Linked DNA regions of Homo sapiens: regions 2, 3, 4 and 5 are each linked to region 1. Evidence: promoter capture Hi-C in 16 types of primary human blood cells and fetal thymus (Javierre and others, 2016). All regions are on one chromosome and are shown on one strand. Each heading gives the region's core, a stretch centred on a gene start or on the middle of the fragment in contact. The rest is flanking DNA. Distances are from core to core; before and after follow the strand shown.

Region 1 (5,067 bases), core at 932-3,431:
TCCCGTGTGCATTTGAAGAGATGTTGGCTGAGAACGCTCCCTCTTAGGCAGGCAGCTGGTTAAAGGGACTTGCAGGGCTGATAGTTCTCTGTCATACACATCCCATTTTTCTAGTGCTCTACAGTTTACAAATAGCTCTCGTGTATTATTTTATTTCATCCTTCCTTAAAGTGATTTTTTTTTAAAAAACGCTAATATTCAGTTTAACAGCAATACTACAAAATATCCAGTTTTGAAAACAGGGAGGCACTATAATATCTGCCCTTGGTTCTGAATCTAGTTGGGAAACAAGACTTACCCAAGCAGATTAAACACCCTGAGACAGAATAATCTAAATGAAAAAAGTAGCTACATGATGAGTAAGGTGGCCAGGTAAGCAGACTAATTCTATAAGGAGCTCAGTAGAAACACAATGTTTCTTTCTCTTTGAATTTGTCCACATCCATTTCTTTAAGCCTTTTCTTCAAGCCAAACTCTACCAAGCAGCTCTGGCTTCACAGGCGTGTTTACTAGACATCACAGGGAATGAGGCACCGAGAGGCCCGTTCACATGCAACGCCACCCCTGGGACAGACAGCATCACGGCCTCCTGGCACCACTCCTGCAACAGACCAACCACACTGCCCTTCTTACATGGGCCCCATCATTCATCTTTCTTCAAAGAAAACAGTACATTAGCAGTCGACACTTCAGCAAAGAACCCCCAAAACAAATGCCCTAGCCTAGATCCAAAAACAAAATTTCCGTTAAAGAAAGTGTGTTTTTCAACCAAAGAAAAATTAGGCTCAATTCTAGGACAACCTATAGCAAGCAATTCTACGTGCACTGGCCAACGCCAACAGCAGCTAGATTCCAAAACAAACTCAGCAAAAAAGGCTCTGCTCTCACCTTTTAGAGATAAGAACCAGAGTCAGCAAGCGGCAGAACCATGATTCACACCGAAGTCAACCCACTCTGTCCTCAACCCCACTGGCTTCCCCATGGTCCACACAACCCACTGTGAACAGATGGACCAGTCAGAATTTCTCTGCAACACCCAAATCGCCACCCCACCCCCATTCCCTTGGTTTAAATGCCCTGAGGGGCAGGCGACAAATCAAATTCCACTCTTAGGCAGGTTCCCAACACAAGACACATTCAGTGGCAAAGCAAAAGAGAAGATGGGCTCTACCACATATAGGTCTTTCTTACCCAGAGGAACATTTTCATGGTCTGTCATTACGGATGAACTCGGGGCAGGAAGAACCCATCATTATGTAATGTCAGAGGGCAGGCGACAGGGGAAGGGAAGCGAGACCATCAACATTCCCTTCCTTCGCCCACAAAGACACAAATTTACCTCTGACATTTTGAACGTCTGTCTTCTGGGGCCTACCCATTCCTGGCTGGCTTTTCAAGAGACAGCCACAGATCCCTGCACATTTCTCAGGCCTCAATTAATTGACTAGCAAAGCCAGAGAGAAATAAAATATAGAAAGCAAAGATGCTAGAAATGTTGTCGGGGTCTAAAGGCAGGCAGAAAATGGAAGAGTTTCGAGGATGGAGACCAGATTTCCCACACGGAGATGCATGTTTACTTTCACCCGGTTATGTTTCCACCCCAAACACGGCAAGGCCTCCAGCTTCAGGAGCCCGTAGACCCAGCCCTGGAGCCGCATCGGGCAGGCACCGCGTCTGCGTCCCGCGGCCACGCGCCCGCTCGGCACCCGGCTCCCTGCTGGGGCGGCCGCGTCTTCACGGGGCTGGGGGTCGGCCGGGCTCGGATTGTTCTCAAAAGACGCCACCGCAGGTGGACCACTGGCACCGTTAGGCAGTGCAATTTCCATGAAAACCGCGGGCGCCGTCCACATCCGCCCCAGCGGGGACCTGGACGCGCCCCCGCGCCCGCTGTCCGTCCCCGGCCCCGGCCCCCGCGGCGGCCGCGTCGCCTCCTGCCCGGCCCGGCCCACCTACCTGGCGCTCCCCGGCCCCCGGCGCCAGCCGCCCCGCTGTCCCGCCGGGCTGCGCGCCAGAGCCCCGCAGCAGCAGCAGCGCCGCCGCCTGGCTGTGAAGTCGCGGGCTGCGGGCCCGGCCTCAGGTGCTGGTCCTCCTGCCCCGGCCCACGGAGCCCGACCCGGCGGCAAACCAGCAGCGAACCCTCCACGCGCGCCGCAGCCCTAGCCAGCCGCCGCCGCTCTAGACGCCGGGCGCAGCCCCGCCCTGGCCCCGCCCCCTTGTCGCGCATGCGCGCTGAGGGCCCGGCCCGCGCCCTGCGACCCCCGCCCCACTACCAGCCCGAGCTGGGTCCGCCCTCTGAGACAGTAGGGCCGGTGACCGAGCTGCTCGCGCCAATTCCTACTGCTAGGTTCCCACAAGATCCCACCCTATCCTGTGACTGCTTCACCTGCAAGGAGTTCTTGAACTTCTGGACTTGACTGAGCGATGGCATCTTCACCCTGTCATCCACTGAGGCATCTGAGGCCCTGACGGATCCCCAAGGGAAAGTTTCCTGGAGGAGCCGCGACCCGGGGATGCGCCCCCAACCTTTTGCCCTCCGGACAAGAGCACTTCCTGAAGTGCAGACGTACTCACTCCCCAGGAGATGTTTAGGAAACTGAACATTCCAACCAGACAAGCAAAAAATTAAAATCTTAATTCTTTGAAAATACAGACTTGCAAAAAAAAGAAAATTGCTAACCTCTAAGTGTATGTCCTTCCGGACCTGTTCTGGCCTGTGTGCATAAGTGTGCACTAACAGACTTGCAACAGCATCAGTCCTTACACTTTGCCCCAAGTTTCTATTTTTCCATAGACAAAAACAATAATCAGAAGTTTTGGAAGAAAATTTTCACTTTGACTTTAAAACAGCATTTCTCCTTGAGCAAGGGCAAATACTGGACTGAATGTATCCTTATCTTTGAGTCTTCACATTTTATCCGAAAAAAAAATTCTTAAAATGATTTTAATTCAATAAACCAGAATACTTCTCAGGCAGAGCATTTAAACATATAATTTGCTTCAAAAACAAAAGAGATTAACCAGTTAGGAATGGAAATTAAGAATTCTCTGAACTCATTTAGAATTATGTCTGATCCTCCTCATGTCACCAAAATACAGACAATAGTCTGGAATAAAAATAAACAAATATAAAACGAGTTTTTTGGGGAGCCTGAGGCAGGAGCATCGATTGAGCAGAGGAATTTGAGGCTGCAGTGTCAGCCTGGGAGACAGAGCAACACCCTGTATCTCTAAAAAAAAAAAAAAAAAAAAGAAAAGAAAAGAAAAGAAAAAAGAAAAAGAAAATGTCCTAGTTTTAAATTTTTATTTCTTTACTTTTTATTTTATTTCTCTTCTGAAAAGTAACTTAGTAATAAAACAGTTCCCTCTTATTATTTCTCCAGCTAAATGGAAAGAAATATTGACAGAACCTTGACTCCACAGTACAAAGTTAAAGCCAAGAAAATCAAATTTGTAGAAATGCAAAAATATTTTTGCATTTTTTTTAATTACTGTGACCAATTAGTTTGCTTGGAACAGCCCCAGTTTACATCTTTTTGCAGCAAAATTATTAATAGGGCCCTCTTTCACTCTCAAATGTATTCCTGTTCAAACAATAAATTTTATGGCCATGCTGTTTATTTATTTATTTTTGGGATGGAGTTTCGCTCTTTTTGCCTAGGCTGGAATGCAATGGCGCGATCTCGGCTCACCGCAACCTCTGCCTCCCAGGTTCAAGCAATTCTCCTGCCTCAGCCTCCCAAGTAGCTGGGATTACAGGCATGTGCCACCACCCTGGCTAAATTTGTATTTTTAGTAGAGACAGGGTTTCTCCATGTTGGTCAGGCTGGTCTTGAACTCCTGACCTCAGGTGATCCACCCGCCTCGGCCTCCCAAGGTGCTGGAATTACAGGCGTGAGCCACCACGCCTGGCAGTCATAATCAAGCTAAGAAAGTTGTTAAACACTAACTTTTAAAAAAGAAAAAAAAATTAAATTTATAAAGATTTAAAAATAGATATCAGTCTAATTTCAGTATTCATTCATTTAGTACAGTAACACTGAATGAGGATCAGCTTCCAATAACATCTGTCACTTGACTGTTATGTAATTCTGGATAATCTTCAAAGATCAATCACATTTTCAGTGTGGCAAAGAATGAGGCCCTAATTCCACCGTAGAATGAAAATTATCAAGAGAAAAGGGAGCCATGTGTTAGTTAATACTGTAAAAGGAAAATAAAATCTCGGGACCCCCAAACTCACTACTCCAAAGGGAAAAGCTAAGCTTGGGAACTGAATCATGCAAAAAAAACTGCCTTCCTTTTGTTCCTAAAGAGATAGCTGCAAGATAGAAGGCCACATATCTCCCCAGGTGGCCTCCCTCACCCTGACAATGTAAATTAACAGCTTATCGTCACAGGAATGGGACAAAGACAAGCGGAGGAATCATCCTTCCACCCACCCCAAGACAAATGCATATTTGACCTCTTCCTCTACTCTCTGTTTACTTACCTTATGTAAAAATGCATAATTCACTGTTCTTCTTTCCCCTCCTGCCCACTTTTTCCTCTTTAAGTATTGAAGTCCCCAAAACCCTCTTGGGAAAAAGCATAGGCCACAGATCCTACTGATCCTACTGTAGTTTGTGCCTCATTTTCCCAGTTGCATCCTCAACCTTGGCAAAATAAACCTCTAAATTGACAGATCTGTCTCAGACACCTTTTGGTTTACAATATCATGCTATATCTTCCCTAAGCATCACGATGTGATAGCTAAGTATGCTGGTGGTAAAGTATCTCAGTCCTTCAGAAGTTCTCAACATGGGGTCCCTAACCAGTCACATCAACATCCTCCCAGAACTTGCTAGAAATGCAAATTCCCAGACCCCATCCCAGATCTGCTGAATCAGAAACTCTAGAAGTGGGGCCAAGTGACCTGTATTTTAACAAGCCCTCCAAGGGATTCTGATGAACATACTGACTTAAATGATCTATATACAATAAGTAAGCTTAAGGGAGGGGACCACCCCTCATATTGTCTTATGCCCAATTTCTGCCTCCAAAGAAAGAAGAAGTAAAAACTGAAAGGCA
Region 2 (5,390 bases), core at 2,800-5,299, 360 kb before region 1:
TTTACTGGGCAGCACTGTTTCAGGGCTGTCACTAGCAAATAGCATCTTGCTGAGACTCTGTAAGGGTTGTGCTCTTCCCAAAAATGGCTTGGGTGTCAAGGCACCATAATACTTCACCTTTCTGCCTGTATGCCTGCCCCCCTCTATCAGCTTCTTGAAGTCAGGGTCTGCAGCAGATTTACCCTCTCAGTAAATGGGTAAATAATAACAACAATAGCTAACATATAGTGAGCACTTACTAAGTGCCAAGTATTAACGTTAAATGCTTTATGCGTTAATTTTCAACAACAATTCTATTTAGTAAATAAGAAAAGAAACTTAGGTTAAAGAACTTGCACAAAGGCATGTAGCTAGTAAACTGTGGAGGAGAGGTGGAGGCCACATAGACTCACTGCAGCCCACGCTCCACAGTGTCATGCTGCACTGCAGTTCTCAGCTGGGGCAGGCATGGGCCCCAGCAGACATTGGCAGTGCCTGGAGACATATTTGATTGACACCGCTGTGGTAGGGTGGGGAAGGGAGGTATACCAGCATCTAGCAGGTAGAGACGCTGAGCATCCTACAGTGCACAGGACAGCTCCCCACAACAAAGACCTATCCAGCCCAAAATGTCAGCAGTGCCAAGGCTGAGTAACTGTTGTTTGCCACTCAATGAATAAGTTAAAATGGGGAGGAAGTGGTTTTATAGGACAGTCATGAGGTCATACCTCTTAGTAAGAGATGGTATGTGATGTAGTGAATGAAAATTAGAGATCAAGAGGTCTGTGTTCAAATCCCAGCTTTGTTACATATTGGCCAAGGACCCTGGACAAGTCACTTTGTTCCATAAGACTCTGTGGTCCCATATCCAAAATGGGGATTGAAAATATCCTTACGTTGCAAGGAGGGCTGTGAGGGTCATTATGAATATGATACTGCTCTGAAGACAAAGATGGAATAAACCTTAGCTGTGAACATTTCTTTGGTCGGGAGAAACTTCCCTACCTGACTAGTGCTGAGTGAAGGAGGGCCCAGATGTAATAGAGAAAGGGAAATCTGAGCTCCAAGGACAATAGCTGCCCCTGGAATGGATTACTTACTCTTCTGTTGGCCACCCTAGACAGTTCTTGTAGAATTCCAGCAGTTCCTGGAGATCTGAGATGGGGAGACAAGGAATCTAAGGTGAGGTGTTTGTGTACATTTCAAAGTGTAAGTAGAATAATTTTTCACCTTTTTCTCAATCGTGCTCTAGCTCAAAGTTATTTTTAAATAACAGTGCCTTTCCCTCCCCATATCCTTGTGAGGTCACAGTTATATCAGCTGGTTGGGAGCGGAGACCAGCTGTCTCTGTGGAGGTAGAGTGGTCATTGCCTCCTGCCGAGAGGCTAGCTTTAATTGCACAGGCAGCGGCAGTTTAGCAAGTGTGCTTTCAGTCCAGCTCCTCCACTGACAACTCTGTGCCGTTGAGCCCGGCCCTGGCTCCCCGGGATCTCCACTATGAGATGTGGAGGTTGGACCAGGCCACCCTGGGATGTCTGCCAACCTTGACATGCCAAGTGCTGGGCAGCTGTCCCAGAAGTCAGGAAAAGAGCCTGGTAAGGCATCTGCCCCTTGGGGTGCCCCCAATACACATGGCTGGCCAGATTCCTGGCCTCACTCCACACACCCAAACACAGATGTGACTCAACGATTGTTTTTTCTTTATGAATGCCTTCTCACAGATGTTACCTGTGAGCAATAGATCCCCAAAGCAGGTATAGTTGGGGCCCTGACAACAACCAAAGCAGACCCCAGGGCCCCATTTGGGAAAAACTCACATCAGTTTCTACTATGGGGACCTGAGCAAACTCCTGCCCTGGGACAAGGACTGACACTCACCCCACCCCATGATGGATATACTACCATATGAGGCCCTCGTAAATAAATGCTGCCACTGGGAGACTCTCTGTCTCCCTCAGCCTTTTCACCGGGGAAGACGGCCCCTCTGGGCCCTCACTCCCTCGCCTTTTAATGATAGAAGCGTGCTACCAGGGCTGTTAAAGCAGCAGTGGCTTTTGTCTTTCTGCCATGTGGAGTTGAAGCTTGTGTGAAAAGAGATATGTGGCCCAGCGGGAGGCGGGTTTCTGAGCATCAGTTGGGAAATTCAAACCACAGAAAGCCTGGCCTGGGAAAGCAGGAGAGCCGGCTGAGGAGCCCTTGGCAGTGCCTCCTGACCTGGGAGTCAGGTAAGGGATGAGGGCAGTTTGGCCCTGGCAGCCCCATGCTGGTGGCTGGGAAAGAAGCTTCCAGAAACAGTGTCCTTCTGTTTGCCCCTAGGCTGCAAAGTGAGTCTGTGTGGAGTCAGATCCTCTGCACTCGCTGAGTTGTGCAATTCCACTTAGGAGAGGAAGTGGAGCAAGAGGAGGGGAGGCTCTGGAGGGTGGAGGAGGAGGGAGATTGTGTGGATGAGGGGAGGCAGTGGTTAGAAAAGGCAAAGGGGGTGAGGCCCTACGGAGGGTGCACTTGAAGCTGTGGGGTAGTGAAGCGGTGGAAAGGGTCTGCTGGTGAGGGCATCCGGGGCACCTTGCTTAATTGCAGTGTGGAAACAGCTCTGGGTGCAAACTTGCCTCATTTCTCTATGTGCACAGGGAGCTAGGCTCTTCTTCCTGGTCACTCTCAAGCACCTAGTGACTCCTGTCTTAGGGGGGGTTTTGTTATTTGTGTGCTTTTACTTCTAATTGAAGAATAATATGCATACAGAGAAATGCACAGATCCTATGTGTGTAGCTCAGTGCATTTCCAGACTGAATACACCAGACCAAGAAACAGAATGAGACCAGCACCCCAGAGGCCCTGCCGTGTCCCCTTTCAGCAGGCTCTGGAACTCATTCCTGATTGTGGACCATGGTGGCTGTCAGAAGATCCTCTGGTCCTGATGGCTTTTGCAGGAGAGCCTGTCTCCATGCACTGGAGAGAAAGATTCAAAAAAATCATTCCTGTCTAGACTCAGCACCTTCCCCAGGGCCTGGCACCTAGTGGGCACCCACCAGGTCCAGTCCGTTCTCATTGTCTAAGGAAGTTATGCTCTGAGAAGTCACTGCAAGCTAACTTAGCAAGTACTGAGCCACTGCTCCTGGAGGAAATGCAAGGTTAGCTTCCTGTGTGTCTCCTGCCACAGCATCAATAGATCAACACATAACCTTGTTTTAGGTGTAATTCTGTTTAAAGATGCTTTATTTAGTATATATTGTTGACGCATTGACACCGAACACACAGCCAACGGCACTGTAACTCAGGCCTGAATGAAGCTTATCTGAAACACACATTATCTCCATCGGGCACATCACAGCCTCCTTGGGCTTAGGAACATTAGACAGCACATCAGCACTCCACTTGGCAGCCTAACCAGCAGAATCACCAAGAAAACCTAGTGCCCCAAAATGTGGCACTGAGTAGACTACAAAAAAGATACTGTATACGGTGTAAGAGCTAAAACAATAAGGCGGCGCATCACTGCTTGACCTCAGCTGGGAACTTGCACATTGGGAAACTCAAATGTTTTGCTGCCCTGCACGTGTTTGCAAATGACCATGCCAACACCATGCATATTGATTTTGGGATTACAAATGTATTTTAGCGAGTAGGCGAATTCTCAAATATGGAGTCAGCTCACAGCGATGATTGACTCTATTTGTTGAATGAGGAGAGGAAGGAATGGCGGTAAGCTTAATTTAAGGTGGAACTGGGACACAGCACCGTCTCCTGTCATTAGCAGTGGGGGCCTGCCCTGAAAAGCTCTTGCTCAGTCTCAAAATGCTCAGCATGGTTTTGAGAAGAAGACTTGGTTGAGCATTACCACCCTGAGTTCCACAGTGAGATCACACAGCCTGGCTCTGGGACAGATCTGATGACGAGCGACTGTAGACGTTGCCAGCATGTATTGATCAGGAGCAGCCTGTGAGTCAAGACTGACAACAGATCAATAAATGGCTTTTAAAAAGCAAAACCCCTCAAGCTGTTTATCTAGGAAGCCTGACAAACCCTGCCGCAGTGGTGTGGCCCCATGTGTCCCCAGGGCCTGGGGCCCACCTCTGCCCCAGAAGTCCTCTTAGTGTCTGTAGACAGGTCCCATTTCCACCAGGTCAACCAGGGCTGTGGCAGTGGACCTGGATGGCAGGCAGAGCAGAGGACCGCTGTTCTATTTGTTGAAGCAACGAGGCACAGTGACTGTTCTAGCACAGCTGGCTGTGAGAAATGGCGATGATGGATCCACTTTAGATCCGAAGTCTTAGCAAACTCAGGCCTCTTTTCCACAGAGAATGTTGTGAAGACCTGGGAATGAGCTGTTGATGTGCATTTTTAGGATGACAGCATAATGGAGAAAATTGGAAGTAGCATATGCCAAAGTATGAAGTGTTCACACAGCTCCCTTGGGTTGTTGATTTATGGGAAGCTTTTTTCTCCTTTATACTTTTATCTACTTTCTAAATCTGTACAATATGCTTGTGTACTTCTATGAACAAGAAAGAAATGTTATGAAAAGAAAAAGTTTCTTAAAAATTGCTGCATCAGGCCGGGTGCAGTGGCTCCCACCCATAATCCCAGCACTTTGGGAGGCAGAGGTGAGAAGATCATTGGAGACCAGCCTGGGTGACATAGCGAGACCCCATCTCTACAAAAATTAATTTAGAAAAAAATTAGCTAGTCATGGCCGGGCACAGTGGCTCATGCCTGTAATCCCAGCACTTTGGGAGGCTGAGGCGGGTGGATCACGAGGTCAAGAGATCGAGACCATCCTGGCTAACATGGTGAAACCCCGTCTCTACTAAAAAATACAAAAAATTAGCTGAGCGTGGTGGTGCATGCCTGTAGTCCCAGCTACTCGGGAGGCTGAGGCAAGGGAATCCCTTGAACCCAGGAGGCGGAGCTTGCAGTGAGCCTAGATTGCGCCACTGCACTCCAGCCTGGGCAACAGAGCGAGACTCCATCTCAAAAAAAAAAAAAAAAAAAGCCAGGCATGTGGCTCACACCCATAATTCCAGCTACTCAGGAGGCTGAAAAAGTTGCTACTTCAGAAAGGACACCATGTACCAAATTTTTCAGAGGCCTGGAAATCTTGTTGCCTTACCTTAAGGCAGAGCCTGTGCTTTATATCCTCAGCCAAAAGGCAAGCAACCTGGGAATTTACATTGTACGACAACTCGTTGCCTCTCAGGAGACTGTGCTTGACAGCCCTCAGCTTCCAGACTTAACAGCTGCATCCCTAGTGTCATACGGGGTGTGGCCCACCATTGGGGTCCCACCCTGGGCCCCTCAACTCGTCATAGCAGAAGTCCTTCTGAAAGAAAAAAACAATACCTTAAGGCTGAATTTTAATAGGCACTAAAAGAACTAACCATCACCTATCAGAAAGTCAAAATGAAGTGATGAGA
Region 3 (4,956 bases), core at 723-3,222, 400 kb before region 1:
TGGATAAAATATTTGCGTAAAAAATTATTGGAAGGAAATGAAAACATTAACTGTGGTTATCCTTGGTTGGTTGGATTATGGGTGATTTTCATTCTATTTTCCAAACTTCCTGTAGTAAACAAGAGAAAAAAATCATTTCTTATAATTTGAGAAAAGCTTTTTTGAAAGAAACCTAATCTGCAGTGTGTAAATTAGTGAAGCATTTGTTTCAGTGATCTGTTTTCCATTAAATTGCCCCAGTCAGTGATTAAACGCTTATGCGGTTACTGATCTTGTGGCTGTGGATATGGTTTTGGCCTGTACTGTGCTGCACTCTGCCCTGGACTGTCTTTGCTGGGGTGTGTGCAGGCCAGATCATGGCAAATGCAGTCACGAACACCATTTCACTCATTGGTAACTTCTGCTAACCATGTTTCTTTAACGTGAATTTCCATATAATTTCAGCGAGCTTGACATGATTTCCACAAGGGTGATGGACATTAAGCTTCGGGAGGCTGCAGAAGGCCTTGGGGAGGACAGCACAGGTAAGGCCCTGCTTCCCCTGCTCTGGGGAGGGCACTTGCTTTGTTGTGGGGCAGGGAGAGGGACTGACAGAGGCAGGCCTTTGGGGCTTTCTGTATGAAAAGTGGGGATTTAGTTCCCAGTGTGCTCAGATACCCCCAGGCCCTTCACGCTGTGACTGGGGGCACATGCACATTATTTAAGGCTGCTCGGGGCAGATTTCCTCTGCTTCTGTGTCAAGCACGGGGACCTTTCAGCTCATTTTCCTCCTTTCTGGAGGTAAGCATGTCCCCATGTTTGGCTGACTTGAATGCAAAGGAAGAGGTACTAAATGGATTCATTCACCATCTAAGAATATCCAAAGGCATCAGTAGGAAGCTGAGCAAAGTACCTGATAGCCTGATCATCTGTAAAAAAATAATTACATCAGGAGAGAGCCTTTGATCCCTCTCCTTCATGACTTTTGTTCTGAAGGAGATCTTTAGTATGTTGTCTGCTGAGCTGAGTTCTAGGCCCATGAATCACCATCTCATAAGACTTTCTAAGAGTTCTCCAATTATGTCATTGGTTTACTGTTATCCAAATATTGCTATTTATGTCCTGATAGAGTTGTAAAATTGACATTAAAAAATTAATCTCCCCACAATGTACCTTTTCTCTAGATTTGCCATTCATATACTCCCTTTATTTTGGTGACCAAGGCCTCCATCTCTCTCTTATTTACACTGAAAATGCCAGTAGTGATTTTCTTTGATATAGTTCAGGAGAAACAGCTCCCAATAATATTAAATCCTAGCTGCTAGCCACTAGCTTCAGATACTAATTTCAGCAAATACTCCATTTCAGATATTAAAGATAGATTTTTTCTTATTATTTCATATTAGAACCATTTTTCCTCTGTCACATTTCAATGGATACCAAATAAATCCAAATATAAGGTGAGGGTTTTTAGATGAGCCCTGAAAAAAAATTGAGTTTCACATTTTCTCATATTATGGGACACTGAATTATTACTTATTGTAAACAATAAATGTTTGAATAAATATTTCATCAGCCTGAAATGACCTCAATAAGTGCTAGTTCTGAATACATACAGAGGTTACTGAAGAAAAGGGACTAAGTTTTCTTTTTTTCAAATAGTGATCTTAAGTTATTCAGACCAACCCTCTTCCACTTAAAATTTAAAATTCTAGATAAGAATATTCTTTAAAATATTTTTCAAAGTAAGAAATAATAAGGCCAGAATTGAAAGGAAAATGGGCCAGGCACAGCGGCTTCCACCTGTAATCCCAGCACTCTGAGAGGCCGAGGTGGGAGGATTGCTTGAGCCCAGGAGTTCAAGACCAGCTTGGGCATAGTGAGACTCTGTCTCTACAAAAAAATTTAAAAATTGGCTGGACATGGTGGCACACACCTGTAGTCCCATCTACTTGGGAGGCAGAGGTGGGAGGATTGTGTGAGCCTAGGAGGTTAATGCTACAGTGGGCCATGATTATGCCACTGCACTCCAGCCTGGGCAACAAGCAAGACCCTGCCTCCAAAAAAAAAAAAAAGAAGAAGAAGAAAGAAAAGAAAAGGAAAATGGCAACCTGGAGAGACAACAGAGTATAAAAGCCACTTTGCCCTTAGATCATTTACCAGTCTTGGAAATTTTCATGTCTTCATGGGGTGGAAGGTGAGAGCAAGGGTCAAATATCAAACGACAAGGCCTGTATAATGTAGGCTGTCTAATAGAAGACACTCTCTACAATAAAGGGGAGCCAAGGAGCTACCAAATCTGAGTAGGTGTGAACTAGGGGTAAACCAACCCTTTTGTAGATTTGTAGCTTGAGTTTGCATCATTTGGGTAATTCAGAGAACCTCAACCCTTGAACTTGATTAATATTGCTTCTAGACTGGATGCAAACCCAGGTACTTTTCAGAAGCAAATAACATTCACTAAAGGAAGGTGCCTTCTATTTAGACTTCAAATTATCACAGAAAATATATTTTCAGTATCATGACAAGCATATAGTCAGTAATAACCAGGCATCTAAGGCAACAGGATACTATGAATGAGAACCAACATGCTGTATGTTGAATGGTGCTCCCACCAAATCCATATGTCGAAGTCTCCAGTATCTCCAAATGTGGCTTTACTTGAAGACTGGGTTATTGCAGATGTAATTTGTTAAGATGAGATCATATTGGAGTAGTGTGGGCTCATATTTGTTAAGATGAGATCATATTGGAATAGGGTGGGCTCCTACTCCAATATGATGGGTGTCCTTATGAAAAGGGGAACTATGGCCACAGATATGCACACAAGGAGAACACCATGCACACATGAAGGCAGACAAGAGAAACAGACACATGAAGGCATCAATATCAGAATTACCAAATACATCCTATAAAACAACTATGCATACTATGTTTGAAGATAATAAAAAAGTTTTAAAACATCCAGGGAAAAGTGGCATAGCACCCAGCCAGTGCAATAAAGCCAGAGAAAGGAATAAAAGGCAGAGAGGTGGAAGAAAGAAATAAAACTATCTCTATTTATAGATGACATGTTTATACAACATATACAAAAAAGCACTTAGAACTGTTACACAAATATACCGAGATTGCAGTGCACTCTTTAAAAGTCAGTTATGGAAGACAGACATACAGTTAGCTCAATATTCTGTAGCAAGAATACTGACAAGTAATAATTTAATTTGATTTCCATGAGGAGTCAGAGATTTTTTTCATTTAGGAAAAAGCCAAGTCCATAGAGGTGAAATAATAATAGTGCCTGGGATGATTTTTTTTGAAATAACCCATCAGAAACAGGGAGGAGGAGGGGTAAAGATGAAGCAATCAAAATCCCAGCAAAACTTTTTGCAGATATTGGCAAGCTGACTTGAAAATGTATGTGAAGAAGCAAAGAACTAGAATAGGTAAAACAATTTTGAAAAAACATAAAGTTGAAAGCTTCATACTACCTGTTTTTAAGACTTACTATAAAGCTGCAGTAATCAAGACAGTATGGTATTGGCAAAAGGATAGATACACAGAGACAGAAGGGAGTAGAGTTCAAAAACAGACCCATACAAATATGGTTAATTAATTTTGACAAAATTGCAAAATCAATTCATTGGATAAAAGATAATATTCCAACAAATGGTGCTGTAACAATTGGACATTCATATGCAAATATACCTCACAGATTATACAAAAATTAACTCAAAATGTGTCATAAACCTAAATGTAAAACTCTAACGCCTTTAAAAGAAAGCATAGCAGAAGATAGTTATGACCAAGGATTAGGCAAGGGTTCTTAGATATAATACCTGAATCCATAAAAGGAAAAAATGTATAAATTGGACTTCATCAAAACTTTAAAATATGGTCTGTGAAAGACACTTTTAAGAAAATGAAAAGACAAGTCACAGACTAGAAGAAAATATTTATAAATCACACTTGATATAGGACTTACATCCAGCATATATTTAGAACTCTCAAAATTCAAAAATAAGAAAACAAATAACTCAGTTACAAAATGGGGAGCAAATTTTAAATCATGCTTTACCTAAGAAGATGTACAAAATGGCAAAGAAGCATATGAAGAAATGCTCAATATCTATAATCATTAGGTAATGCAGAGTAAAACTGCAATGAGATACCAGGACACACGTATTAAACGTCTGGAGAAAACCACCATAACAACAGGAGCTGATAAGGATGCATTGAAGGGAGGAATGCAAAATGGCACAGCCACTTTGGAAAAACATTTTGGCAGCTCCTTGTGAAGTTAAACATACACTTAGCCTATGACTCAGCAATCCAACTCCTAGGTATTTACTGGGCAGTGAAAACTTATGTTTACACACACACACACACACACACACACACACACACACAAACTATAGCAACTTATTTATAATTGCTAAAAACTGAAAAGAACCCAGATGTCTTTCAGCAGGTTGAAATGGTTCAACAAACTGGTATATCCACACAATGGAGTTCTACTCAGCAATAAAAAGGAATAGGCTATTGATCTGGTATAACATGAGTGAGCCTCTAATGCATTGTGCTGAGTGAAAGAAGCTGGAATGAAAAGGGGACATACTGTGTGACTTAATCTACATGACATTCTAGAAAAGGCAAAATTATAGGAACAGAGAAGTTATAAGTGGTTGCCAGGGGTTAAAGGTAGCGGGGAATGTTGGACTACAAAAGGGCAGCATGAGGACAGTCCTGTATCTTGATTGTGGTGATAATTATACAACTCTATGTACACCAAAAAGAATGAATTTTACCGTGTGTAATTTAAAAAATAAGTTTTTTTTACAAGGTATAGCGGATTTGAAAAACAAAGGAATTTTTAGAAATAAATGTAATAATTAAAATTTTATTTTAAATAAGTTCATTTAAAATAAATGTAATTATTAAAATTTTATTTTAAATTAAATTTATGTAAAATAAATGTAA
Region 4 (4,977 bases), core at 2,258-4,757, 380 kb before region 1:
ACAGGGAGGAGGTCCTGCTGTGCATCCTTCAGAGCCTTCAGGGTATTGGGCTTTATTCTATAAAGAGGAGTGGTCAGGGGTATTATTGTCACAGGCACCGTGATCATTCTTACTGCACTTGCAAAGCAGCTGATCTTGTCTATTCTCATGAGTCCTAGGCAGTGAGATTTTCTTTTTAACCAAATGTTTATACATTGTTCCTCTAGACAAGGGTAAATATTACAGATTCTGTATGCTTATTTTTAAATGTACACATCCTGTTTGTGACCTTTAAGGAAGACTCTCTGGGAAAGGTATCGATTTCCCAATCTAAGGTGACTTCCTGAGTTGTCAGTGACCACAGTGAGAGCCAAAGCCACAGGCACAGATGTACTTGTTGCCAGGAGACTTGCGGCTTATTTTTAACATAATTTTTATTGCTTTATTCCCGTAAGTACCTGAGTAGCTAAAAGAGAATTCAAATAGATTATGTCCACTTTTAGCCCCCTTTCCCCCATTTTAGTAATTATCTCCTCCTTGTTTACACAGATAAACTTACACTTTTATTGGAAAATAGGAGAGACCTTCACATGAACAAGAAGAGGTTGTTCCTCCCGTATCGAAGCCCATCTCACCAGTACGATCATCCTTATGGTTCCCTGTCCGGGTTAGCAAAGGCTGCTGGGCACCTGCTCTGTGTGGGGGTCCCAGGGTTATTAGAAAAGAAACAGCGGATGTGCCCATGACCCTAGGAGTTCGCCACTGGGGACGGCACTGGTGTGTTGTCTCATTGCCTCATTCACTGTTTTCATGAGGGCTTACTGAATTGTTGTGTGAATAAAACTCTATTCTTAAGTTAAATGGAAACTTGACACTAATATTGCACACCGTGCTCGAATAGAAGGCTTGCTTGAAGATCACAGAGTTATACGAAAAGCCTGTCACCTCCTAGAGTCTCCCTGTGCACCTCGCCCCTCATCTGGGCTGCATGTGCTCACAGGCGCTCCGAGTTTCATCCCAACTTGTGTCTGCAGGGGAGCCCACTTCGACCTCACTCAGTGGTGGAGCTGGCCAAGTTCGGGGGCAGGGATCTGCGGGTATTGCCTTCATTCTTTCACATGACTGCCAGCATCCCTTTGTCCCAGGTGACATGTTTGCCATTTGCTATCAGTTCTTCCGTGCTGAAGTATAAATGAGTAAAATACCTGTAACTTAACAGATGGCAATGTCCAGCCAGATTTCTTCAAAAGGATACATGAGCACACAGAGACCTTCTAGGTTGAACCAACAGGGCTCCAGTGATGGAATACTGGGCAGTGGGCTTTGCACTTCCTGCGCCCCAGCCTCTAAAGTCACACCTCTGAACCTTCCCCTCAGCTTCCAGAGACAGGACCAGGTGACTGTGCCCTTGGACAAATCAGGCTGGTGTGTTTTGAGAGAGAAAGCTCTTGTCTGAAGTGCCTGTGCCAGCCACCATGGGAGGGTGACAGGGGAGCCTGAGACACAGGTTCTCTGCATGGTCTTGGGAAAGAGTAGCTGGTTTCCAGGAGCTGGCCCCACACTTTAAACTCCCAGCCATTTACCTTTCTCCAGAAGGATCCTAGACCCCTCCTTGTTGAGAATCAAATTGAAAGTATTGGCCGGGTGCGGTGGCTCACACCTGTAATCCCAGCACTTTGGGAGGCCAAGGCGGGCGGATCACAAGGTCAGGAGTTTAAGACCAGCCTGGCCAACATGGTGAAACCCTGTCTCTACTAAAAATACAAAAATTAGCTGGGTGTGGTGGCAGGTGCCTGTAATACCAGCTACTTGGCAGGAGAATGATTGAACTCAGGTGGCAGAGGTTGCAGTGAGCAGAGATCACGCCACTGCACTCCAGCCTTGGTGACAGAACAAGACTCCATCTTGGGGGAAAAAAAAAGAAAGTATTTCCACACACGTAAAGCCAGAGACAGTGTGGGAAGACAGCCTGGGCAGAAAAGAGCATTGTTGCGTTGGTCGTCCTTATTTCACACGGTGAAGTTCATGCTCCGTGTGTTTGTTCCTTGTCCCACGAAGGTCTCTGTCGTGTCTCCAGACCACGTGAGCGACAGCACCGTCTCTGCCCGGATCTCAGACAACAGCCTGGCACCAGTGGCTGACTTCAGTTATCCTGCAGAATCCTCCTCCTGCCTGGACAACTCTGCAGCTAAGCACAAGCTCCAGGTCAAGCCCCGCAACCAGCGGTCGAGTAAGATGAGGCGGCTCTCATCGGTAATTGGGTTTCCTTCTCCACACAGAGGCAGGCCAGGCAGGCTTGGCACCCCCCTATGCCCCCCCCCAACCTGCCTCACTCCCCCACACAGGGTCTCATGCCCCCTCTGAGCACCCCACAGTTGATGGAGCCATGCTGCAGGAGCTGAAGTTGCTCATCTTTTTAAACATAAACCAGATCTGTCTCTCCCTTGCAGAAATGCTCCATTCATTCATCCATCCGTCTGTCCGTCATTCCTCACACACTCACTACTGAATACTGGTTGCCTTCCCCCTGCACTCAGAGGAAAGTCCACGCTCCAGGCCTGGCACATCAGGTCCTGCCTACCCCCCAGGCTTCTTACCTTCTTTCTCACTCAGCGTTCTGGCCACCTTTCTGCCTCTTGAGCTCAAGAGCTGCCTCTAGCCTCAGGCCTTGGTGCTGCTGTGTCCCAGCCTTGGGGCCTGAGAGTCCCCCAGAAAAACTCACCCTGCCCGTTCACTTCCTTCAGAACACTCGCCACATGCCAAAGTGACCTTTGTAAATGGATGTGCTCTTATTGCCAGTCTTCTTTGAGACCCTGTCCTGGCTGCATTTTCAGCCCTTAGAACATTTCTAGTCACAGAGTTGTTGAATGGATGAACCACTGAACAAACAAATGAGTGAATTAACAAATGAGTGAATGAAAGAAGCTGAAACACTAGCGTGGACAACTGTCTTGGATGAGGGCCTACTCAGTAGCATGGGGAGCATGCCTCGGAAAGACAGACCCCTCTTTGGGTGTGCTGCCTCAGGGTGTCGTTACCTCCTAGTCCTAGAAGCTGAGAAACTGGCTCATGGAATACTTTGGCTTCATTTACTGGCAGGTTCGAGGTTCACATAGGGTTGTTCCCTCTCCCCTACCTGACGGGCACTGTAACGCGTCCCCCCTGGAGTGGGGACCAGCCTGGCCACAGAGAATGACAGTGCTGATAAAGAGATGCTCACAGGCTAATGTCCTCTGTCCTTCCCTCATGACATGATTGTGGTGTGTTGGTGAAGTACCCAGGGCAAGCTGGGTGCCTCAGCTGGAGACAGTTGGGCTAGGGCCACTCAGGAGTTCAGCAACTCCCTGAAGAGAGTGAGTTTTCCTTTGGGCATATGGAAGGTGTTCTTTAAACTCATGCCAGCAGAGTAGACTTTTGAGGGGACTAATGCTGGAGGAAGAAGCAAAGGTGAGTTACCTTCAGGCTGATGTGCCAGCTAGGAACCAGGATACTTGTGCCTAGGTGTGTGTGTCCAGTGCATGCACAGTTAAAGGCTGTGTGCTGTGTCAGTGTGACAAGGTCCGGTCACTCAAGACCTGCCTGTACTCGTGCTGAATGAGACTACAGGGCCAGGGCCTGCTCCCTTCTGGCCCTCAAGTCTGTGATTTATGAATCCCACGGGGATGTCTTTGGCTCTGGCCAGGGCGTTTATAGCCAGCCACAACCTGGCCAGGACTTGGTGACAGAGCGAAGCGTGGTGTCTATTCCAGGTGGAAACACAGCCTCCCTTCTTGCTCCCATCTGGGCAGGGCTTATATCCTTCTTTCTTTACATTTGAACTTGACTTAGTTCTTGAATCCCACTTTGTAGAATAACAGAAAACCTGATGTAGCCAGCCTGGGCAAACAGGTAAACAGCCTTTCCTTGATTTCAACTCTGTCACATCCATGGTCTTTCCCTCTTTTCCCCTTCCCTGCTTGGTAAGGAGCGGGCATGGATATCTGAAGTTCTCAGAGGTGTCCATATTTTCCTCCATCCACTGTTGTGGAACCTATGATGCCGGGGGCCTCTGTCCTTCAGTGTCCATAGCACCCTTTGCCCGTTGGTCATGAGGTCCCTCTTCCCAACCATAAGGACCTTCCTTGTGGCCTGGCCCCTCTCAGGGATCAAGGTGCTTTCAGATGCTCCCTAAATGCTCCCAGGATGGGAAAGAACAGCCATGCTGCCCCCTCTGCTGCCTTGTGTGGGCTCTGTGACTGATAGTTTTAAAAGGTGACCTCCATCCTAAAGAGGTTTCAACATCAGCAGTTTCCTGTAGTAGCAGAAGGCCATCAACATGGCAAAGTAAAGAACCTGCAGCTTTTGAAAGTTCTTCTGTAGCTTTCTTTGTGCCTCTTCCTCTTTTTAAATCCAAAAGAATAGGATTGTGCATTTTGGCAAGAGTTTGCTTAGGTATTGTCACAAACATCCCAGGCATCCTATATTCTATTAGCAAGCAGATGCCATGAAAAATGTTAAAATAATAACAAACAGCAAGAAGAAAAACCTATTGCAAACATACCCTGTCACAGTTCCTGCTTTAGAAAAGGGGAAGGAGAGAGCAATAGCCTGGGTGACTCTTGGTGTCTAATATCACAAACTTTCTAAAAGATCAGTCTCTACACCATCAACCTTTTCGTCATTTCCACATGTTACTTTTGAATGATTCTTGGTTACCTGGAGCTCCTTTCCTTCCCGAGAGAGCAGGAACTGACTTTGTGACAATAGGAGGAAGTTGGACTGGAATCTGAATTCTAGAGGTCTTTCAGAAGAAGACTATCACAAGGCACTGTATGTTTGCCAAGCCAGTAGGGCTTCAGGAGGCCAGAGAAGGGGGGAATCTTAAACTGCATAGAGTGGGAGAGTTTGAAATAGTCCTTGGGGGCCCTGGTAGAGTATCTTGGAGGTTGGGGGCAGGGGGGTGGGGGAGAGTGGGGAGGTGACAGTCACTCAGACCAAGTGTCTGGCACAGTGTTGAGG
Region 5 (5,052 bases), core at 1,022-3,521, 330 kb before region 1:
AATATAATTCACTGGTACTAAATCAGTTCCAAGCATCAAAGTCACATGGGTTCTTTTTTCTTATACTCCAGTAAATACTCAAAATCATGTCACGTTTCAATTTTCAGTCTAACCAATAATCTTCAAGAACTCTTGTTCTCTGCACCTTTACTGGGTCAACCTACTGTTGTTTCTTGGAAGCAATGTGCTGACATGGCGCTCTGAGACGTCCACATCTTGAATCGTCTCTCCTTTCCCTGGGAACCAACCTTGGGTTGCTTATCTTGGTTCTTCTCTTTGAAGCTGTTAGTTTTCCTAAAGGTTATCTTGAGGAAAGCTTCAGTTCTTCATATTCTAGGAGGTATTCAAAAGAACGTCATTAATCCATTAGGCTGAACTGTTTTCTCCTTTCTCCCTGTGTATTGGTATGATTGATATTTTAACAGCCTGGGAAGCTAAGAGTGACGTCAACAACCTCAGCTGCACTGAGAGTGAGGTGAATCATTCCAGAGAGTTCTGAGCCCAAACACACACTGGCTTGAGTGGTCCTGGGCTTGGTGTTCCCAACAAAGGCTCTTAGAACTCTCTTTAAGCCTCAGTCAGTATTTGGTGATCCAGTGGGTGTTTTCCAAGCCAGGCTGTCAGCTTGAAGAGTTCTCCCTTGGGGCAAAGTCCTTTTAGCATCTCAATTTAGGTAATGAGTTCCCTTTAAAATGCTGAAAGGACCTGATGTGGTGGCTCACATCTGTAATCCCAGCACTCTGGGAGGATGAGGCGGGCGGATCACTTGAGGCCAGGAGTTTGAGACCAACCTGCCCAACGTGGTGAACTGCTGTTTCCATTAAAAATGCAAAAATTATCTGGGCGTGGTGGTGGACGCCTGTAACTCCCAGCTCCTTGGGAGGCTGAGGCAGGAGAATCACTTGAAACCTGTAGGTGGAGGTTGCAGTGAGCCAAGATCACACCACCGTACTCCAGCCTGGGCAACAAAGTGAGACTCAAATAAGTAAATACATAAATAAAATGCTGAACAGGTTAATCCCTTGACCTTCTAAAATTGGGAAAGCTGGGTTCCAGGGGCTGAGCACAATGCACAGAAATAAACGATGTGAGTCATTGGTTCCAGGAACTCAATATTCTCAGCGAGGGGCCCTCCAGAGCAGCAAGTGCCAATGGAAGCATCTCTAAATTAATTGGATCTCTTTGTAAATCCAAAGGACAAATTAAATAAATGAATTGTCTGAGGCCAGTTGATTTGTAGTTCACATTTCCTCTGCAAAGGCTTGACTACAGATTTATTCATGCATTTCTGAAGCCACGTGATTTAGTGCTGAGGCCTTCTTGGGCCTTTGATAACTGCCATGATTATTAAGGCCTTGGAAGGTATAAAATGTGTTTTTCCACAATATTTACTTATGTCCTCTGTACAAAATGCATAAATATGTTACCAAGAATGTTACTAAAAACAGAAAAGAAAGGGCATGTTGTTTTTTTCTTTTCCCTCTGAGGCACTGCTTAAATATCATCTGCAAATTGTTAATTGCTCAGCTTGCGCTTTTATGACAGGGTTGGACCTGGGGAATGAAAAACAGCTCCCAGTGCTGATGCAGGGACACACCTGGCTGGCAACTCTGTTTTCAGAATGCCAAAGAGTGTAGGCTTCATTCCTTCATTCTGTAATAGGGTACAATGGGCATTGTCTAACCTTTATTTTAGCTACTTAGAGGGAAAAAAGCTACCATGACACTTGTGGTAGTTAATTTTATGTTTCAACTTGACTAGGTCACTGGTTGCCCAGATAGCTGGTTAAACATTATTTCTGTATTTGTCTGTGTGGGTGTTTCTGGAAGAGATTATCATTTGGATTAGTGGGCTCAGTAAAGCAGATTGCCATCAGCAATACAGGTAGGCATTGCCCAATCTATTGAAGACCCAAACAGAATAAAAATGGAGCAGGAAGGAGGATTTGCCATCTCTCTGTCTGATGCTTGCCATCTTCCCCCAGTGCTCCTGCTTTTCAGGCCTTCAGACTCAATCTACACCATTGACCCTCCAACTCTTAGGCCTCTGAATTAACCACCAGCTTTCCTGAGTCTCCAGCTTGCAGACAGCAGATTGTGGGACTTCTCAGCCTCCATACTCACGTGAACCAATACCGTATAATAAATCTCTTCATATGCAGTCATGCATTGTTTAACAATGAGGATACATTCTGAAACACGCATTGTTAGGCAATTAAGTCATTGTGTGGACATCATAGAACGCACTTAAACAAGCCTATAGGCTTTGTGGTGTAGCCTGTTGCTCCTGGGCTACAAACCTATACAGCACGATACTGTACTGAACACTCTAGGCAATGTAACACAATGGTAAGTATTTGTGTATCTAAACATAGAAAAGGCACAGTAAGGCTGGGCGCAGTGGCTCATGCCTGTAATCCCAGCACTTGAGGTTGGGAGTTTGAGACCAGCCTGGCCAAAATCAGGAAACCTCATCTTTTCTAAAAATACAAAAATTAGCTGGATGTGGTGGTGCACTCCTGTAGTCCCAGATACTCAGGAGGCTGAGGCAAAAGAATCGCTTGAACCCAGGAGCCAGGAGGCAGAGGTTGCAGTGAGCCGAGATCACCCCACTGCACTCCAGCCTGGGGAACAGAGAGAGAGACTCCATCTCAAAAAAAAAAAAAAAAGAGAGAGAAAAGGCACAATAAAAATACTGTTGCATATGTGGCCTGTCATTCACCAAAACATTGTTATACAGTACATAATTGTATATCTATATGCTACTGGTTCTGTTTCTCTGAGAATCTAGACTAATATACCACCTAATGGTGATCTCTAATGTTGCAAGGACAATAACTATCTTATCTGTCCTCACACATTTTATTGCAAAGTGACATTGTGTGTTGTCCAGACTGAGAATTTACCAGCTATAATTTCCCCCCACTTCAGAAACAGATTGGCAAATCATGATCAACAAAAACTATGCTCACTGAGAGAAGTCACCCACTGTTCAGACACAGGAGTGAGACTCTGGGGGCAGGAGGGCATCCAGGAGGAATATACAATGACTTTCCCTTTAAACACAGAAGCTGGAACAAGGCTCTGGGTTTAATCTGACTTGGAATTGCCTCTGTGGTTCTCAGCCAGCTCTGAGGAAGTTAAGAACCCACCCTTGCCTGTTCAAGGCTGGCTTCCAGCTCAGGAGGAAGGCTAGGGGGTGAGAATTAGGAATCCCCCACCAAAACACACACACATGCACGCACACACAAACACACATGTCCAAAGCTGACTGTTTTTCTCTGGGATTGTATTTCAAGGCCTCTGAAGTCATCAAAGTCTCTAAAACACAGGTGGTCATGGGGCTTTTCATGATAAACTTTTGGAATCTTCTCCCCTCATTAAAACCAAACCACAGTTCTGCAGGGCTTCTCCGAGAGCCAGCCTGATGGGACCCAAGTCCATGAAGGCTTCCTCCATTACCAGTGAGCAGCCTACAGGGACCCCAAGCGTGACCTGGGGTGGGGCCAGAGGGCAGGCCAGGCACTCTCGGCCTCCCGAGACCTTTCTCATGCCTAGCGTACTCCGCAGGCACCTTGATGCCTAGTGAGCGAGGAATCCAGCTTAGCAAAGAACAGGCACAGACATTTCCTGCTTGATTGGAATCGTTAATACTCGGTTCCAGGAACCTGACAAGCTCTGCTTCGCTTGGCACCTAGCACAGTCCCAGATGGTAAATCTTCCCTGTCACCACCATTGTAACTCCCCAGAGGGGTCCTGGAATTGCTCCAGGAGGCCTTGTGCCAACTGCTAAATCCCAATGTCCCCTTCTCGTCGTCTCACCACAGCAGTTCACGGTCCAAGACCCTCGATGCTTCCATGAAGAGGCAGATCGGCACCTTGTTGCATGCAGCCAAACCATACATGAGTGCACAATACAAAAATGATGATAGATTTGAGCTCAGTGGGTGAGAGGCAGCAGCTGTGTGTTTACTCAAGGTGAGTTTGGAAAAGCTACATGGCATGGTCAGGCTTTTGAGACTTGTTTGAAATGTGGCCGGAAAAGGGGAGGCTGACGTGGGAGGAAGAAATGGGCACGTGTCCCTGGCATCCGCTGCGAGTCCTCCTGCCTCCCTGAGAACACAGTGCACAGCATCCGGGAGAGACTGGCCAGGACTTGGTGTTCAGTTACCTCCAACACCAAAGACAGTTGGACTTGCATTCCCTGGGGCCAGCTCACAAGCTTCAGAGAGCTCACAGCATAATGTCTTCTTCTGACACATGCTCACTGAACATCCACCATGAGCCAGGCACTGGGTAAGCACTGAGGAAACACGGGGCTAGTGACAAGGATGTCTCTGCCCCCAGTGGGCTGTCAGCTCACTGGGCAGAGGAGTTGGGCAAGTCCTGGGGCAGAGACAGAACGGCCCTTCCATGCAGGGCACATGGCGGTCACCACCGCCAGAGGATCTGCTGGAGTAAGCAGGAGAAGCCCTGCTGAGGTCTGGATGTTGATGTCCCCCCAAATTCCTATGTTGAAGCCTAACACCCGTGTGCTGGTGTTAGGAGGTGGGGCGTTTGAGAGCTGGTTAGGTCATGAGGGTGGGGCCCTGATGAATGGGATAGGTTCCTACAAGAAGAGGCCCCAGGGAGCCCCCTCGCCCCTTCCACCATGGGAGGACACAGACAGAAGTCACCATCTATGAACCAGAAATTGGGCCCTCACCAGACACTAAATCTGCCCCTTAATCATGAACTTCCAGACCTCCAGAAGTGTGAAAAATAAGCATGTTGTTTATAGGCCACACAGTCTATGGTATTTCAGTATTGAAGCCCGAACCACCCAAGGCAGGTATGGCATCCACCATCTTGCAGGAAGTGGATGAAGGGGAGGGGCAAGGGAGGGTGGAGGAGGGGAGCCGGCGCTGAGACCCAAACCAAGAGCAAGGGCAAGCTGAGGGGCGGGGGCATTGTTGGAGACCATGCTTAGGCATTTAGAATTTATTCTAAAATCCATGAAAACTTGCTGAAAATTTTTGTTTTCATCTATGTGACATTGCTATCATCTGTATGC

The links. The method cuts DNA at HindIII sites, captures the fragments that hold promoters and counts their contacts. A CHiCAGO score of 5 or more calls a contact.
Region 2: a contact is called between a fragment that was not itself captured here and the fragment with the promoter of INPP4A in region 1, in 1 of 17 cell types (non-activated CD4 T cells). The highest score is 5.2, in non-activated CD4 T cells.
Region 3: a fragment that was not itself captured here is called in contact with the fragment with the promoter of INPP4A in region 1 in 3 of 17 cell types (non-activated CD4 T cells, total CD4 T cells and fetal thymus); the score reaches 6.2 in non-activated CD4 T cells.
Region 4: a contact is called between a fragment that was not itself captured here and the fragment with the promoter of INPP4A in region 1, in 1 of 17 cell types (fetal thymus). The highest score is 6.8, in fetal thymus.
Region 5: a contact is called between a fragment that was not itself captured here and the fragment with the promoter of INPP4A in region 1, in 1 of 17 cell types (non-activated CD4 T cells). The highest score is 6.1, in non-activated CD4 T cells.

What each region holds. Positions count from the first base shown.
Region 1 is chr2:98,441,972-98,447,038 of GRCh38, reverse strand. It overlaps INPP4A (inositol polyphosphate-4-phosphatase type I A), which reads right to left and starts at 2,181. Exons shown (of 25, transcript NM_001134225.2): 1 at 1,954-2,181. RefSeq lists a silencer at 1,712-2,351. The HindIII fragment of the contact is 7,361 bases long and covers 1-4,264 here.
Region 2 is chr2:98,802,577-98,807,966 of GRCh38, reverse strand. All of the region lies in intron 7 of CRACDL (CRACD like), which reads left to right. Among named protein-coding and RNA genes, the nearest start is that of LINC02611, 33 kb to the right of the region's middle. The HindIII fragment of the contact is 728 bases long and covers 3,686-4,413 here.
Region 3 is chr2:98,842,299-98,847,254 of GRCh38, reverse strand. It overlaps CRACDL (CRACD like), which reads left to right. Exons shown (of 10, transcript NM_207362.3): 2 at 445-524. The coding sequence starts at 455. Among named protein-coding and RNA genes, the nearest start is that of LINC02611, 73 kb to the right of the region's middle. The HindIII fragment of the contact is 2,972 bases long and covers 487-3,458 here.
Region 4 is chr2:98,824,230-98,829,206 of GRCh38, reverse strand. CRACDL (CRACD like) reads left to right here. Exons shown (of 10, transcript NM_207362.3): 6 at 2,038-2,232. Among named protein-coding and RNA genes, the nearest start is that of LINC02611, 55 kb to the right of the region's middle. The HindIII fragment of the contact is 8,017 bases long and covers 1-4,977 here.
Region 5 is chr2:98,774,424-98,779,475 of GRCh38, reverse strand. No RefSeq gene overlaps it. Among named protein-coding and RNA genes, the nearest start is that of LINC02611, 5.1 kb to the right of the region's middle. RefSeq lists enhancers at 352-916, 3,915-4,792. The HindIII fragment of the contact is 3,905 bases long and covers 319-4,223 here.